Linked DNA regions of Homo sapiens: region 2 is linked to region 1. The links are contacts of gene promoters, found by promoter capture Hi-C in blood cells and fetal thymus (Javierre and others, 2016). All regions are on one chromosome and are shown on one strand. The core of a region is centred on a gene start or on the middle of the fragment in contact, and the rest is flanking DNA. Distances in the headings are between cores, read along the strand shown. Region 1 holds the start of SNX20 (sorting nexin 20). Region 2 has its middle 6.0 kb from the start of LINC02168.

Region 1 (2,597 bases), core at 31-2,530:
ATTATAAAACCAGGCCTTAGAATAAAATCAAATTCAGCAGCCACAGTCAGCTCCCTTATGGTTGTCTCTTACAGGTTTCATTGGGAGTCACCCATTTAAAGAGGAGGGGGAAGGAAAGAGTTGTGCACTGGTGTATCCATGGGGCCTTGGGTAGCTTCCCATCCCTCTCCAGGCCTCAGTTTCCTCATCTGTGAAATGGGAAAGCAATCCTGTCACTCTAAAAGCTCTCTGGGGATAGCCACATAGACGGTTCCATGGCCCTTTCCTTCCCTCTCCTCACCCTCTGTAGCAAAGATTTCTTGACTTTATAACAAAATACTAAAAGTGTTGTTGCTGTTGGCCTGGGGGCCTGTAGTTGGCCCAGGGGACAGAGCAGCTTCCCAGCCTCCTCTGCCTTCCAGCCGTGTGTGCACAGACAGTCATTCTCCTCCTCCTGTCCCCAGGTGTCCTAACCACCCCCTCTCCAAGAGCTGACTGCCAAGTCCAGTCCTTCTTCTGCTGGGCACACAGAGGCCACACTATCTTTCTGAGGGCCTGCGGAGGACTTTTCATGGGGGATGAGCCTCTAGGGGGTGAAATAAAGCACATGGCCCACGCTGGGAGACAGAGATCCCAGGATGTTGGATGTGTGGCTGCCTCTCTTGGGGAAAGGGTGGGTACCCTCCAACAACTGGACGCTCACCTGAGAAGCCTTGCCAAAGCCAGGGGCTCCCAACCCAGTGTGTGTAAGAATCCCCTGGTGGGGTGGGGGTGGGATCCCAGGGGCTTGTCCAAGAGCAGGTTTCCTGGCTGCTAACATAGGAAGGTGCCATTGAACAGGCCTGGATTCTGCATTTTCCATGAGTCCTCTAAGGCTGTGCTGAGGCAGGGGTTCCCTGACACTGTTCTTTTGAGAAACACAGGTGTGGTGACTTATTCTCCAGGCCCAAGATGGGTTGTACAAGCGCCTAGCATTTCAAAAGGAATGGAGGTGATGGAAGGTCCAGGAGCTGTCCCTTCCTCTGCCTCAGTGTGCTAAGGAGAGCTCCAGACACAGTGGCTGTCACTAACTCTTCCCCCTCCCACCCTGCCCCCAGCAGGTGCCAGGCAGGGCCCCAGGAGAAGGGGACTCAGGCCACAGCAGGCAGAGGACAGCTGAGCTTGGGATCAAATACTGACCTCCAGTCTCCAGGGCTGTGTGTGTCCAGGGGTCCGGGAGGAGTGTCATATGGCCCCTTCGAGCTCTTGGTTCTCAGCTCCGGCGACAAGCCGAGGGGCTGCCACTTTCTAAGTTCCCCGTTTGAAAACAGGAAACAGGCTGTGTGACCTGCTTCTGATCGCCCCAGCCCATTGGCTGGTGAAACATGGTATATTGAACTCAACTGCCAGCCTGCCAGCTGTACCCACCTCTTCTTCCGGGTAGCGCAGGGAAGGGCAAGGCGGTGTGGGGCCAGCCCTGTGGGATTTAGCTCAGCCTCACTTTCCCTGCCGCCTTGCAGAGGTCTGGCTGTCCTTCGAGTCCCCGTTGATCTCTGGAATTCAGGCATTAGCTCCCAGAGCCCTTTAACATTCATTATTCTACTCTATGAGCTAGGCATGATGGGGGCCGTCATGCCCCTTGAACAGATGGGAAAACCGAGGCTTGGATCACAGAGCTGGTGGGACACAGAGCCAGTGACTGACATAGAAGAGCAGTGGGGTAGAATTACAGTTCCATCTGGTGCCTTTTCTCTGAGCAAAGCTGTATCCATCACCACCAACAGAAAGTCCCAGGGAAGCGAAACCCCAGGGCAGTGTGGTGTGATTCATGCCCACCCATCTTTGTGGCCTTGAAGGCAAGAAACAGAAATCAGACAAAAAAAAAAAAAATAGAACTTTGCTGGCTCGCCCAGAAGTTTGCCATGTGTTTTTTTTTGAGCCATGATTCCCTTCCTCCCTATTAGAGGCAGTCACAGTCCTGATTCAGATGGGGGTTACTTCTTGGCTTTTCCTTAGAAATTTACCACCTATGAGATCCCCAAACAATTCAGTTTCATTTTACTCATCTGTGAATCTTATATAAATTGAACCATGCATACTGTGTGTATTCTCCAGTGCCTTGCTTCTTTCATGCAACATTTATGGGTATAAGATTCACTGATGCATTTCTGTGTAGATACTTTTTTTCATTTCCATTGTTGTGTTGCTACATTATTATTATTATTTATTTTACTTTAAGTTCTGGGATACCAGTGTAGAACCTGCAGGTTTGTTACATAGGTATATATGTGCCGTGGTGGTTTGCTGTACCTATCAACCCATCATCTAGGTTTTAAGCCCTGCATGCATTAGGTATTTGTCTTAATGCTCTCCTTCCCCCTGGCCCCCACCCCTGACAGGCCCCAGCGTGTGATGTTCCCCTCCCTGTGTCCATGTGTTCTCACTGTTCAACTCCCACTTATGAGTGAGAACATGCTGTGTTTGGTTTTCTGTTGCTTCATTATTTAAATACATCACCATTTGTCATTTTTTGTTTTGTCTTTTGATGCACACTTGGGTTGTTCCTAGGGTGGCCATCATGATCAATGCCACTGATGATATTCTTACACATTTATCCAAGTCCATGTACTTATCTGAGG
Region 2 (2,597 bases), core at 54-2,553, 130 kb after region 1:
CTTTTCCAAAGTTTACACTCCTTCCTTCTTTCATTATTATTTTTTAACCAACTCCACTGAGGTGTAATTTACATACAGTAACATACACATATTTTAAGTAAGCAGTTAGATGAGTTTTGACACATTCATGAATTTATTTTTTATGAGACCAGGATCTCACTATGTTGCCCAAGCTAGTCTCGAACTCCTGGGCTCAAGCGATCCTCCTGCCTCAGCCTCCCAAGTATCTGGGACTACAGGCATGCACCACCATGCCCAGCCAATTTTAAAAATTTTTCGTAGAGAAGGTGATCTTGTTATGTTGCCCAGGCTGGTCTTGAATTCCTGACCTCAAGTGATCCTCCTGCCTGGGCATCCGGAAGCTCTATTACAGGCATGAGCCACCACTCTGGGATCTGACAAACTTTCTGTAGTGTTGAAGTTCAGTGACTTGGAGTAGTCACCTCCAGCTCAAGGTGCATGTGCCTGTGTGTTTTCTCCTTTTTTTGATAAAACCCAGGCTCAGCACAGGGTCGAGAAAAAGACTGAAAGTCAGCCCAGAAAGCAGTGTAGAAAGTAGAAAGCTAGTCTGGACTACCATTAGCATCAAGGACCTCAGTCACTGGAGCCATTGAGATGGGTCCACCCCTTCTCCCTCTCTTTCTCTCTCTCTCTTTTTCTTTCTTTAATTCATTAGCAAGAGGGTCTGTCTCACTATGTTGCCCAGGCTGGAAAACCTGGGCTCAAGCAACCCTCCCATCTCAGCCTCCCAGTCCCAGCTCAATCTTTCTTTTTAAAGTTGGAGAATTTTCTAAAGTTCTCCAACTTTAAAGGCTGCTGCCTAGGGAGGCAGGGCTGCACCCACGGGCAGAGTTAGAGGCAGAGCTGGAACAGAACCCCAGCATGGGAAGTCCGTGTTCACGGGGGGCCATTTCACCCTGGGACATTGTAGGGCAGCTCGAGGCTCTGACTAGGGAGGCCCAGCGCCTGGGGCTGGCGCTTGGTCCGAGCTCTGCAGGCTTTCCTGGGTGGAGAGGAGCCTCTTCCTGCCATGCACACCAGGCCTTCCTTAAGTGACTCAAACACCAATCTTCCTTGGGCTTCCTGAACTGTGAGGATTCCACAGTCTGGCAGGGCTGGTGGCCTCAGCCGTACACTCTGCAGCCAAGAGGGCTCTAGCTCCTGATTCCACCCTGTCCCTCAGCGGCTCCCCAGTGCTCTTCCAGGCCTTAGGCCTGCACCATCCCCACCTCTCCCTCCTCACCAACCTGCCACCTCCTGCCTCAGGTGGACACACTCAGGAGGAAGTCAAGCCTGTCCCTATACAAAAGCCATATTCCCAGGCACTTGCCTGAGTAGAGACGAAGTCTCAGCTCCTTCTACGTGAGCCCGAGGTGCCCACGGTCCCCACACCCCCTCCAGGAGTCCTTGCATTTGCGCAATGCTTTATACTCATCTGTCAGCTCGGCAGTGGGTCCCCCAGAGGGTGAAAACCACATTGTCCCTGTCTCATCAGCAACCAGAACAGGGGGCACCAACTGTGGCCTCCTCCCATATTTGTCGGGAGACTGAATGATTCTCAGGAAGCTGCGCGGCCACCGGCCATTTCACATGGGCATTTCCAAGCTGGGTGCTTTTTGCACCATGCTATTTTGGGCGGGAAGACTTTTCCAGTCCCTTTCTCCTTGGCATGCCACAGAAGAATTTCCTTCACCCACATCTGGATCATCTAGAATTACCCAGTTCAGCCTGTTGCTTTCAATGGCAAACGTCCAGTGCATGGTGTTGGCTCATTTTCATCCCCACTGTCTAGGAGCCCTTGAGCCTTGAGCTTTGGTTCACTATGGGCAGTCTCTTCCCTCCAGGCCTTGGCTAGAGCCAGGCAGGGACAGTGCCCACTCAGGGGCCGATCCACCTCGCTGGGGGCCACCAGTTCGAGCTGGGTGCTCTGTGAAACCAGTCATACCCAAGCTACTGGACTCTGGTCACTCCATGATCCTTGGCAAGATGTCTGTCTATGAACCGCAGTCCCTCTATCTGTAAAATGAAGGATCCTAGACTGGGACTCTCAAGCTCACTTGCCTACAGGGGCCAGGCAGGTACCTTAGGGAAGGGAGAAGGTTGGAGTGTTGGTGGAGAGCTGATATGGTAAAGGAAAGGAAGAAGCAGGCCAGTATATTCTGATTTTTTTTTTTTTTTTTGAGACGGAGTCTCGCTCTGCTGCCCAGGCTGGAGTGCAGTGGTGCGATCTCAGCTCACTGCAACCTCCACCTCCCGGGGTCAAGCAGTTCTCTGCCTCAGCCTCCTGCGTAGCAGTGAGTGCCACCATGCCTGGCTAATTTTTTTGTATTTTTAATAGAGACAGGGTTTCGCCATCTTAGCCAGGCTTGTCTTGAACTCCCGACCTCGTGATCCACCCGCCTCGGCCTCCCAAAGTGCTGGGATTACAGGCGTAAGCCACCGCACCTGGCCTATGTTCTGATTTTTCAGACGAAGTCAGAAATTTCTAAGAGAAGCAAAAGTTCCTGATCTGTACAAATCTGGCAACTTTTCTTTTTTTTAACTCTGTATGTGCCAGACGCGTTTAAGCCAGAGCAGCTCCATCTTGAATAAGGGCT

The links. The method cuts DNA at HindIII sites, captures the fragments that hold promoters and counts their contacts. A CHiCAGO score of 5 or more calls a contact.
Region 2: a contact is called between a fragment that was not itself captured here and the fragment with the promoter of SNX20 in region 1, in 2 of 17 cell types (neutrophils and activated CD4 T cells). The highest score is 6.3, in neutrophils.

Annotation. Positions count from the first base shown.
Region 1 is chr16:50,680,032-50,682,628 of GRCh38, forward strand. SNX20 (sorting nexin 20) reads right to left here and starts at 1,281. Exons shown (of 4, transcript NM_182854.4): 1 at 1,159-1,281. The HindIII fragment of the contact is 15,976 bases long and covers 1-2,597 here.
Region 2 is chr16:50,811,334-50,813,930 of GRCh38, forward strand. No RefSeq gene overlaps it. Among named protein-coding and RNA genes, the nearest start is that of LINC02168, 6.0 kb to the left of the region's middle. The HindIII fragment of the contact is 5,044 bases long and covers 1-2,597 here.